Regions from separate parts of the Homo sapiens genome. Here region 1 is linked to region 2. Evidence: promoter capture Hi-C in human tissues and cell types (Jung and others, 2019). All regions are on one chromosome and are shown on one strand. Each heading gives the region's core, a stretch centred on a gene start or on the middle of the fragment in contact. The rest is flanking DNA. Distances are from core to core; before and after follow the strand shown. Region 1 holds the start of KRTAP4-2 (keratin associated protein 4-2). Region 2 holds the start of KRT33B (keratin 33B).

Region 1 (5,844 bases), core at 918-3,417, 190 kb after region 2:
GAGGAAATGTTGGTCAAAGGGAGAAAATATTCATTTATAAGAAGAATAGGTTCTGAGGATCTAATGTACAGCATGGTCACTGTAGTTAATTACACTGTATTGTATATTTAAAATTTGCTGAAAGACTAGATCTAAAATGTTCTCACTACACACACTCAAAAAATGGTAACTATGTGAAGTGGTGGAGGTGAACTAATTTGATCATGACAATAATTTCACAATATATACATATCAGAGCATCAGGGTGTACACCTTATATACATACAATTTTATATTTCAATTATAGCTGAGTAGAGGTAGAAAAAATGAAATTGTTAAAGTACTAGAAGAAATCGTGAGAGATTCCTAAATATAATGTAAATTTATCTTAAGGAAAACACACACACACACACACACACTCACACACACTCACATCATGAAGAAAAATAGTTAATATAAAGTGATCTCTACTGAATCATCAGCAGGCACCAATCGTCACGGCTTCTCAAGGGCACGATTCTTTTCCAGAATACAAGGTCTCCTGGAAATCTTAGAGTTGTTCTCGTACACCACCATGGGGCTCACAGGGTCTTAATTCCACAGCATCATGGAACCCACTTTCATCCCTCAATAAAATATGATGTCTGGGTACATCAGAGCCAGAGAACAGTGCAGGCTCAGAACACCAGCCAGCGCACCAAGCAGGGGTTCACTTGGGAGCCCAAGTTGTTTTCATTCTGCTTGAATCACCTGGAAATTAGGGCCAGGGCAGGAGTAGGAACTGGCTTGGAACATAGCAGCATCATAAGAACACCACAATTTGATTTATTAGACTTATAAGCACCTGAGAGAAGAAAGGGAATCTCCCTCATTCATCCAATCCCCTCCATCTGGTTCTTGGATCTCCCTCAGAAACACCAGCTTACACTGAAACTCCTCCCCTGATTATCTGCAGAGGCTGCCCAGTTCATAAAACATTTCTATCATGGTAAGTCAGACATTTTTCCACCCCCTTCCCTGGGTTCCTTGACTCCTCAGGGGTGGGGAAATACATATATATTTATTAACTGATGAGTTAATGAATTGACAACATAGCACATTTTTGAAACAATAGTCAGCCATCCCTACATGAAAAAATATAGGCTGATATCCTTTGTTCTTGATACCTGTTTTCTGCTTTCTTTCTCTCTTTATTGATTTATTTTTTGAAAACAAAGATGTAAAGTGTGAAATTGGATCAACAACTTCTATAAGGAAGCAGCAGAGTATAGGACATCTTCAAGGCCCAGCAATTCAGCAGAGAAAGCAAGAGGGCTGGGAGCGAATTAGAGCAAGCAAAGGATACTGAGTCATCTAATTTGGGTTGGCCAGAAAATTTTGGAACCTGGAGAGATGAGCTCATGTGCCCTGTTAGAGCTAGGAAGGCAGAAAGGCAAAGTCACAAGGAAAATCTGCCCCAGGGAGCAAAAAAATGAGGGACTTGGACCTTTAAGTATAGCTGTTCTCTGAAGCCAACATTCCCCAAGAGGCCCTGAATCTGAATTTTGGAGGGTTGTTTCTGTAGAAAAGGAAACATCAAACTTTCACAGCTTAGTTTTCCACCTTAAAACAGCTCTGTATTTCTCATCAGAAGGTCTAGAAAATGGGTCACAATTCAGAGTGCGGAAGATAAAAAAGCGATAGGTCCTACGGTGTTCTCGTTCTCACACCAGTGGTCATCTGTTTCACACTGAAATCTGTTTCACACTGAAACCTTCACAGGCCATCTGACCCATAATGAAGGAGCCATCAGACTGAAATGCAGCTTTATCCTCCTGAGTCACCAGAAAGAGTCAAGGGCCTGTAAGAATAGTAATCACCCAAGAGTAGTCATGATGTGTTAAGCAAATGAGACTGAAGCACATAGTATGTGCTTACAGGCAGATGTCACATGGCTGCTCTAGGAGGAAGCTATAGTAAGAGAGACACAGGAGGTGGTTCAGGAAGAGCTGAGCTAAGGAGTCCTAACACATTAGGGAAAGGAGACAGTGTTTCCATCTATGTGGATAAGTTAACCAGAACAACAAACTTGCCTAATTTGATAATTGCCTACATATCAGGACAAATAATAACAAGGAAAGAGTGTTGCATCTGATGACATCAGGCCTTAGCAGGGTATAAAAGAGGATCTGGGGCAAGGAAACTTCCAAACCTTCCAAACCCACCTTCCTGGAAATCCACCCAGAACCTCCACCCTCTGACACCATGGTCAACTCCTGTTGTGGCTCTGTGTGCTCTGACCAGGGCTGTGGCCTAGAGAACTGCTGCCGTCCCAGCTGCTGCCAGACCACCTGCTGCAGGACCACCTGCTGCCGCCCCAGCTGCTGTGTGTCCAGCTGCTGCAGACCGCAGTGCTGCCAGTCTGTGTGCTGCCAGCCCACCTGCTGCAGCCCCAGCTGCTGCCAGACCACTTGCTGCAGGACCACCTGCTGCCGTCCCAGCTGCTGTGTGTCCAGCTGCTTCAGACCCCAGTGCTGCCAGTCTGTGTACTGCCAGCCCACCTGCTGCCGCCCCAGCTGTGGCCAGACCACCTGCTGCAGGACCACCTGCTACCGCCCCAGCTGCTGTGTGTCCACCTGCTGCCGCCCAACCTGCTCTAGTGGCTCTTGCTGCTGATGCCCTCACCTATACTCACCTGCCTTTATTAACCAGCATTCTTGATATGATCCACCTGTGAACTGAATCATGCAAGGCCAATTGGACAACCTCAGTTCCAACCAATTCTTGGATTGAGTTTGGCCTCCAAATATGCTCACCAAACACTATGTTGCTACCCTCTACCAAATGAATACAAGTTTGAATTTTCTCTGAAATATGTCAACCCCATGTTCCCTGAATTGAAATATTTGCTCTCTACCATAATTTATCACATGGAGCTATTCCTCTATCTTAAATAAATTTTAATTTTTGAGGCATACAAATAATATACGGGCATTGTGTCTCATTTTTCCTTCTTGAATTCTCATCCTTACCTGTCAAATTTTCTGATGTTCTTCCCTGCAGAGGGAGAAGACCACAGCAGATGATATCAGGGGCTCCACCTCTATCCTATCAGCACTCTCCATTCAAACATAGGAAAATGGTTCCTTAGAGCAGGCACCTGGAACTCTCTACCTGAGGACTTTCTCTGGATAAAGGAGCAAACTCTGGGCTGGAGACTTAAAGCCTCTAGGAACAGCACTCAGAGAATGAGTGGGAGTTGGTAATATATGCCCTGGCTTGTTTCCCTCCAGTGGGGGGTATGTCAAACCAGTCTTCCAGAGGTCTTCAGCGGGATTTATACCAGATGCCTGCAGGAACATTCTGATCATGAACTCACTCTATAATGACTTTCCCTCCTTCCCAGGGTCATTCTTCAAGTTTCCTCCAGTGTTTCTTGGGTTAATCGTCCAAATATACCACATGTTCTCAGATCCTCTTTTGTGGGTTTGCCCCAGAGAGCACACAATCTAAAACAGCAGCATTCCTAATCTCAGTATTAGTGTCCTTCAAAATGTTTTTGTACAATATGAATGGTTACCATAGATTTTGATCAACTCTTGAGTTTACTGTCACCTGAATGGACACCTCTGAACATTTTGCTGTTTTTTTTCTTTTCAATTTTTGCGCATTACAATTTTTTTCTATTATTTGTTCATTTACTTTTTTGGTCTTCTTTTAAGAATTTTAATTTTTAAAGTTTTTATTTCAATATGCATGTTTGCTTTTAAACTAGTTGTCTTTGATTGTTTTTTTCTTCACATCGTTTTATCTGAGGGATAGGACACAACCACCGTGTTGGTGATTCTCATCCTAAAAAAGGCTATATTGAAAAAGGTTTCACCCTGAGCCATGCTGCTAAGTTGGAGGCACCAAAGAAAGATCTAAAACAGGATGTTTGCACAAGTGACTTTTATAAGAAAATGCTCTCAGGAGAAATCAGTAAGGAAATGTCGGAAACAGAATAGGATTGTAGAAGAGGCTAAGCCCAAAAGGATTTTATTGTCATTTGACCCCACAGGAAGCTCTAGAGTGTGAATGGTATTACAGACCCATCTTTCTGAGAGGTAAGGTCGTTGGAACTTTACAATCCTACATCAGTTACCACTAGCTATGGCCCACCCTGTGGGAGAGGAAGAGGATGCGAAGAGGGCGGAATCCTCCAGATGAGGTGGCTCCTGTAAGCTGAGGACAACTATCTGGAGAAGTGTGCAGGTGAACAAAGGGAGCTGCTGGCTGTCCTACTTACACTAGCTTGGGGATGGGGGTATCTTTCTGGTAAATGGGATCAGGATAGGGAGCCCTGTAGTCCACCTCTGGCACTGCTCAGCTGCAGCTGTTTCTCTCATTAGGCTCACTCCAACTGGTTGGTCACAGTTTCTAGAGAAACGTATGAGAGGAGGGGTCATGGGCACCCCTGCTTCTGGTCTAGGTCACTTGCTTGGTAGGGTAACCCGAGTCCTCATCCTGAGAGCTCTAAGCCTTGGTTACTGTGTCCTTATCAGGCTTGAGCCCTTGAACTTGCTCATATGCAGTCAAGGCTGGAAGTAGAAGCACCAAGCATGTCCCAGAGGATCACTTAAGTGCTAAATATATTCCTCCCTGTCCCCATTGGCATAGCAGTGGTCCTACTTCCTCATGATGATGAGGCCAATTGCCTGTGGCAACAGCCCTTTTCTTTATGTGCTTTTCTCCAGCCAAAGTGATAAGGTAACAACCATAGCTTTAATTCCAATCAAATCCTTACTATGCCCCCTGGAGGTGGCTCCTCCCTTCTTGGAGCCAGGACCTCTCCATAAAACTTACAGTTATTTGGGAGGGAGCACAAATTCCCTCAAGTGGCTCACAGGGCATGAAGGTGAGTGAGCAACTCCTCTGTCCACACTTTGGTTTTCTGTATTAATGTATTTTACCTGTTGTGGACACAGTACCATGTGATGGTGATTGGTGTAATAATTCTTACTGCATCCTGAAGAACAGCGCTCCACCTCACAGGGTGTCATCTCCAAGCTGAGACCTCCATTATGGCTTCAAGAGGTGGTTGCATCACACTATCCGTTCAGCTGTTTCTGGATGGTGCAGCATAAAGTATACTGTGGGTAACAGAGTATCTACAGTTACCTGCCCATTGCCACACACCTTGTGCTCCATATGGGGTTGATCAGTCAAAGGTGAAGTTAGGTAGGATTCCACACTGCCACAACAAGTTCTCTTGGGCCCCCATATAACGGTGCTGGCTGAGGCACTGCAAGCAGAAAATGCAAGCCCATCGCCTGACTGTATGTCAATTCCATCAGCAGCAAGTAACTGGCTGATCCTCTCATAGGATGGTACCTTACGAGGGACTCAGGGCCACTCTCTTGCTGGCAGGTCGGATGTTCAGCAGTGGTGTCCTGGTATGCTGTAGACAGGATGCTTAAAAATATTACCAGTGTGGCAGCCTCTGGAATCCTTTTCTCTTCTCTTCTAGAGCACATGGATCCTTAGCAAGGTCTCCACAGTATTCACATTTTGTGTTCATCAAATCTGATTCACATGACATTATCAATATTGTGGATCAGCATGCTGTATTGTAGGATGCTCACAATGCCTAGATCTTTTGCGACTATACTGTGACAAAGATCAGGAGAATTACCATATCCCTAGTTCAGCACAGAGTGTTAACACCACTGTCTGTTCCAGGTGAAATGGATTCACTTCTGATGCTGCTTCCTGGTGGTTATTGAAAAGGACACATTTGCCAGTTTGGTTGCCATACACCCCATATTGGAGACTGTGTTCATTTGTCCCAGAAATGATTCTACATGCATCAATCACATTGGCTATAATTAGATTTTTATTTGACAG
Region 2 (6,197 bases), core at 350-2,849:
CTATGCAGCTTGGTTATTCACCCTATGCACTAGGTGTGGTTTCAAATGACTTCTGGCTGGTTCCAAAAATAAACACACCCATAGAAGATGAAGATTGGCCTTCAATGAGGATAACCAAAAGAATGTGTCCCAAGCTGTGAAGGCAAGTTTGAAGGAAGGGTGATCTGAGGAATGGCAGGTCACCTGTAGGAAAAGAATTCTTGTATGGCAAGACTTAATATGTAGCTTCCAAAAGGAACAACTTGGAGGAGTATCTTTCAGAATTTGAGCACTGATAGATTAAACATAAAATCCTCATATTTCATAGTTCCATCTGGAATGCATGAGAGTAGAGCATCTGCTTGCCAAAATGTGCCAATGGTCATAAAATGCCACTTCATGCACATGACATAGTGGTGGATTTTCAGGGTCATATCCTTTGGAGAGCTAGGCTTGGGTATTTCTCCCTCAGATCAACCAAGGGTTTCCTTTTTTTTTTTTTTTCAAGCTTCTAGTGGGTATGAGGCATTTTCACTTAGTAAACTTCCTTCCTTCAGCATAGAAGTGACTTTTGGTTCTTTAATAAGTAAAAAACAGGCTTGTTATTTTTTGGCCCATTCTAATTTAGGATATTGTCAGCACTGATTGAGCTCAATGGAGCTCAATCTGTATTTTTTGCATTATTGCATCTCAGTACTGAAAAGATTGGAAGAGAGAGACATGTAATATGACAGAGTGTGGACATTGGAATTAGAGAGATCTGTATTTGAACCCTGGCTCCATCATGTAGGAGCTCTGTGACCTTGGGAGACCTCTCAGAGGCTTAGGGTCCTTATCTACAAACCCTTGCAGCATTTTGAGAGGACTGAAGGAGCTGGTGCATATGAGGTGCCTGGCACTGTGCCTGGTGCACAGTGGAGGCTCAGCAAGCAGGACCCATCACCAATGACAGAGTCACGCTGTGCACAGGCATGGAGCACAGTGCTTCATGCAGAGTAGGTGCTCCCAAAATTTAGGTTTCTTAATGTTCTGTGAACACTGAATACTAGTAGAAACGGAGGTGGGTGGCTTCCTGCAGCCCCATAGGAAGAGGGTAGAGTTGCCTCCATCTGCCTGGATGGAACTGCAAATGGGCCTTGAACCAATGGCCTTGTAAGTCCTTTCTCATTTCAGCTTCCAGGATTCCCTATCACATAGTCTAGTTTCTAGACGGGTTTCCTTACATGGCTTTTCTCACAGAGTCTTAATTGAATATGAACTGGATGAGACACAAGCCTTTCCTCATTTAGGAGAAAGAGGCACATATGTGCCCCCTACTCTGGGGACAGGGCCCAGCTGTCACTCTAGCTCAATGTCCCATGGATAAGCACTGCTACAGGCAAGGTTGGTCACTTTGAAGCCAAACCATGAAGCTCTTACTTAACCAATCAGCATGTTTTGTGAGGAGTCCTGACTTAGCAAGAAGCCAGAGTAAAACATTTAATGAGGTATAGGACTCAGGTGAAGTGGCTAAATAACAAATGGAAAAATCAGCAAAGGAGGTAAAAAGGAGGAATACTTGACATGGTTGCCACACCCACTGCTAACAGAATATAAAGCCCTGGAAAGGACCAAGGCTTATCCCAGGGAAAAGGAATCAGGTTTTGAAACTGACTTCCAGAGCTCCACTGCCTCCCTGCACCATGCCCTACAACTTCTGCCTGCCCAGCCTGAGCTGCCGCACCAGCTGCTCCTCCCGGCCCTGTGTGCCCCCCAGCTGCCACGGCTACACCCTGCCCGGGGCCTGCAACATCCCTGCCAATGTGAGCAACTGCAACTGGTTCTGCGAGGGCTCCTTCAATGGCAGCGAGAAGGAGACTATGCAGTTCCTGAACGACCGCCTGGCCAGCTACCTGGAGAAGGTGCGTCAGCTGGAGCGGGACAACGCGGAGCTGGAGAACCTCATCCGGGAGCGGTCTCAGCAGCAGGAGCCCTTGCTGTGCCCCAGCTACCAGTCCTACTTCAAGACCATTGAGGAGCTCCAGCAGAAGGTGAGGAGGTGGGCACCACACTGCCAGCTTAATGAACTACTTATCTATATTTGACATACTAAACTGTGAATGGATCTAAGTCTGTTCACAGTAATGCTGAGAATGATAAAGACATAGATTCACTGGCTTAGGTATGACATCAAGTAGTCTTAGAAAATCTGTTGTAGAGCCACAAAGGAAGGATGCAGGCTGGTGTTAGAGTGAAGCATTAGACCAAAATCAGTCATAGCAATCTTATATGGCGTCTTACTCCAAACCAGAATATCTGATTTTTTGGTTTGATTATGATACCCTGGTTTTGTTTTCAGAGCATTACCGCATTTTCAAAAAGTATGCACCTGAATTATTTTCTATGCTAAGAATTTCCTAAGTAAATCTTCAAATATTTAAAGCCTTTCAAAGCTGTAGCAAAATATAGCATTTATGGCAACACAAGAGAGCTGTTGACTCCAGCAATATCTACAGACACATGGACCATCCTCTAGAGCAGCCATGTGTACAGATGACAATATGGGGCCATCTGTTCTGGAAGAGAAGTAGATATAAGTAAAGAGTCCACAGAGAATTGGGACTGAATACCTGGTGTAGGTTTGGGAGGGATCCCAGAAGAGGCAATGTCTGAGTGGGGTTTGAAGGATGAGTGGGAGTTTATATCCAATTGTACAAGCCCTTGATTCTGGGAGGGAATTGACTGCCCACTGTTCTGTAGATCTGGAAAATTAGATGCCAGAAAGGGGTTGTGCTATTTGAATATCATTCATTTATTTACCCAGAGTTGGAGAGTGTTAGGCACAGTGCTGGGGTGGGGGATAATGTACTGAGTAAGACAGTCTCCTTCCTTCAGGAGCTCACAGTCTAACAGGGGAGATAGATGTGGAAACAAAATGATCACACAAAGGTCATAAGAAGTGTTATTGATTAAGTATGTGGGTTACACAAGGGGTCTTGCTAGTGGGTGAGGGCATTCTGGGTACAGCAAGAAGCTTTTTGCAAAGGCATGAACAAGGGCAATATGAGGGGAGAGTGGAGAGAAGTTAGCAGGTGGAATGTGTTGGATAACCAAGTTGTTCTGGCTTGCCTGGGATTTTTCCCATTTTAGCATCCCAGAAACCCCTCAGTCCTAAGTTAACTGGGATGGTTGGTCACCCAACCGAAGGGTTGGATACCCAGTAACCTAATTATTGCAGGAAGCCAGAAGCAGATAAGAATAGAATTCATGATGAATTCACATTGGTTGTCCTGGTTTTGAAATGATCAGTTTTATGATCAAATCCTCCTTTTATCTCAGAGCTGAAAATCTGAAAGGACTCAAAGCTATTTGGGAGGAATGTGGCTGAAAGAAAATAGCATTTCACTTTAAGGCACAAGGCATTTCTTAGTATAACCCATTTCATGATTAATCCTATCCCCAGATCCTGTGCAGCAAGTCTGAGAATGCCAGGCTGGTGGTGCAGATCGACAATGCCAAGCTGGCTGCAGATGACTTCAGAACCAAGTAAGATTTTCCTAACCATCAGAGCAGTCTAGTAACGGACAGGCTGAATTACAAAGTGATGAGCTCCCTATCCTGGAATGTGGAAGCAGAAATTTCTATTGGGAGGATTCTTGCATTGGGTTAGGATTAGGTTAAATGTCAAAGCCTCTTCAATAGGTGCTCAGATTCTGTGTTTTAAGTTTTTTTTTTTAATTTTTTTATTTTGAGATGGAGTCTCCCTCTCTCATCCAGGCTGGAGTGCAGTGATGCAATCTTGGCTCACTGCAACCTCCGCCTCCCGGATTCAAGTGATTTTCCTGCCTCAGCCTTCCTCGTAGCTGGGATTACAGGCATGCGCCAGCAGGCCCAGCTAATTTTTATATTTTTAGTGGAGACCGGGTTTTACCATGTTGGTCAGGCTGGTCTTGAACTCCTGACCTCAAGTGATCCACCCGCCTCAGCCTCCCAAACTGCTGGGATTACAGGCGTGAGCCACTGTGCGCAGCCCTGTGCTTTAAGTTTGATTGTAAGACACCATCCATTCTTACTCCTTTTCAACCCAACGTCTGGAGTAAGTTTGAAAGTGATTTTCACATTGGTCTCTTTGTATACGTTAGTCACTGTCAACCCCCCAAAAAGAAGTTATTAAACCACAAAAACAGGAGGCAAAATCCATTGCCTTTCAGAGAATCAATCAATACTTTTAGGTATGACCATTATTACAATCATGAGAATCCTTTGCATTTTCCTGGGATCTTACATTTTACAACATAATTTTACATATATCATCTTCAGTCCAACCCTATAAGGTGTTAGTTTTGTCTTCATTTTACAGTTAAGGAAATCAAGCCTCAGAGAGATAAAGGTATCTATCTACAGTCATTTAATGAGAATACTGGCTCTAACTCTGAATTCAGTGTTTCTTCCACAACACTAGATTGCTTCTTGGCAAGGCTGGAAAGGATGACAGGACAACCTGGAGCAGGCTTATGAAGGGCACTGATTCACTTGAGATGGCAAAAGCAGCAGGGCTTAGTTGATAGTAACTTGTAAACGAGAGTCTTAGAACAAACTTAGTTTGTGTTAGACTAAACTATCCACAGGCATTCCACCAATACCTTTTCTGTGTGTCTCAGTGACAAAATAGGCCTTCTCACTCAGTACAGGAGTATTTTCTCCCTTAATTTTTTAAATTCAAAATATTTCAAAATATAATAAAATTGACTAAGTCAGCCAAGTAAAGGCCGGGAAACAAAGACTTTTTTTTTTTGGACCTCTTTTGACCTCTGGCTGTGTGTGCAGGTACCAGACGGAGCAGTCCCTGCGGCAGCTGGTGGAGTCCGACATCAACAGCCTGCGCAGGATTCTGGATGAGCTGACCCTGTGCAGGTCTGACCTGGAGGCCCAGATGGAGTCCCTGAAGGAGGAGCTGCTGTCCCTCAAGCAGAACCATGAGCAGGTAAGAGTCCCAGCCCCCAATATCCCAATACTGAGAGCTCTGTGATCCCCCTGAATAGGATAAGGTAGGATTTGATTTGCTAAGCACCCTAGGCCTAACAACATTTTGCTGGTTGCTCAAAACATACTTTGGGGCTTGTTGGGGAATGAGTGACAGCTTACCTTTTTTACATAAAGGAGTGTGGTAAGCTGACCTACTTCCCCTTGGGACCAGACATGTATGGCTGAAAGGTCACACAAATATCTTTAAACTACTGTCTACTGTTTGATGCTATCTATTAGCTTCTGAAGAGGTGCCAGGTAGGTTAATGACCAAGACTGGAAGGAGATAGAAAACATTCTTACACTCTGTTTCACCTAGATAACTAGAACTCAAGCTAGATAAATGGATAGATGGATGAATGGATGGATGGATGAACTGATGGATGGGAAAAACGGGAGAAATGAAATAACTCAAATAATGGTTGATTCAGATCTCATGGCTGAATGCAATACTACGAAATCAGATGCATGTCTCAAACATTAGACGTTTTCATGATGAAAACATGTGTCATACTCTAGTAGTATCCCATGAAATAAATAGGAGGAATGAAACCTGGTTTCTCTATATTTAAGTAGCAACAATTGTAAGCCAATTATCATGCCAGGCTTATCACTGAGCAAAGGGGAAATAAGAAAGAAATGATAGAATCTTGGACTGGGTAGAAATATTAGCAATCATTTAATGAAGCAGCCGTATCATACAGATGAGGGAAGGGATTCAGAGAAGAGGCCAGAATTTCCAGAGGTGACAGCTGGGCTTCAACTCATGTTTCCTAAGCTGCAATGCAATCCTCTTCCCATTATATTGAACTGCCTCAAAGAAGTTATTGAAAGACTTCTTTCTGTGGGTTTATTTCTTCCCTTTTCTCCATTAGGAAGTCAACACCTTGCGCTGCCAGCTTGGAGACCGCCTCAACGTGGAGGTGGACGCTGCTCCCGCTGTGGACCTGAACCAGGTCCTGAACGAGACCAGGAATCAGTATGAGGCCCTGGTGGAAACCAACCGCAGGGAAGTGGAGCAATGGTTCGCCACGCAGGTGGGCATCTAAGCACGTGGCCACTCAGGACCCGAGGCCCCCCAGGGCCCCGGAGGCAGGGTCTGATCCTTTCTCCCCTTGGGTGTTTCAGACCGAGGAGCTGAACAAGCAGGTGGTATCCAGCTCGGAGCAGCTGCAGTCCTACCAGGCGGAGATCATCGAGCTGAGACGCACAGT

The links. The method cuts DNA at HindIII sites, captures the fragments that hold promoters and counts their contacts. A contact is called where the count stands out against the background at its distance.
Region 1: a contact is called between the fragment with the promoter of KRTAP4-2 here and the fragment with the promoter of KRT33B in region 2, in 2 of the 25 tissues and cell types used here (IMR-90 fibroblasts and heart left ventricle).

Annotation. Positions count from the first base shown.
Region 1 is chr17:41,174,544-41,180,387 of GRCh38, reverse strand. It overlaps KRTAP4-2 (keratin associated protein 4-2), which reads left to right and starts at 2,167. Exons shown (of 1, transcript NM_033062.4): 1 at 2,167-2,942. The coding sequence starts at 2,224. The coding sequence ends at 2,634. The HindIII fragment of the contact is 21,892 bases long and covers 1-5,844 here.
Region 2 is chr17:41,365,215-41,371,411 of GRCh38, reverse strand. It overlaps KRT33B (keratin 33B), which reads left to right and starts at 1,599. Exons shown (of 7, transcript NM_002279.5): 1 at 1,599-2,009; 2 at 3,422-3,504; 3 at 4,786-4,942; 4 at 5,859-6,020; 5 at 6,112-6,197. The coding sequence starts at 1,662. The HindIII fragment of the contact is 10,508 bases long and covers 200-6,197 here.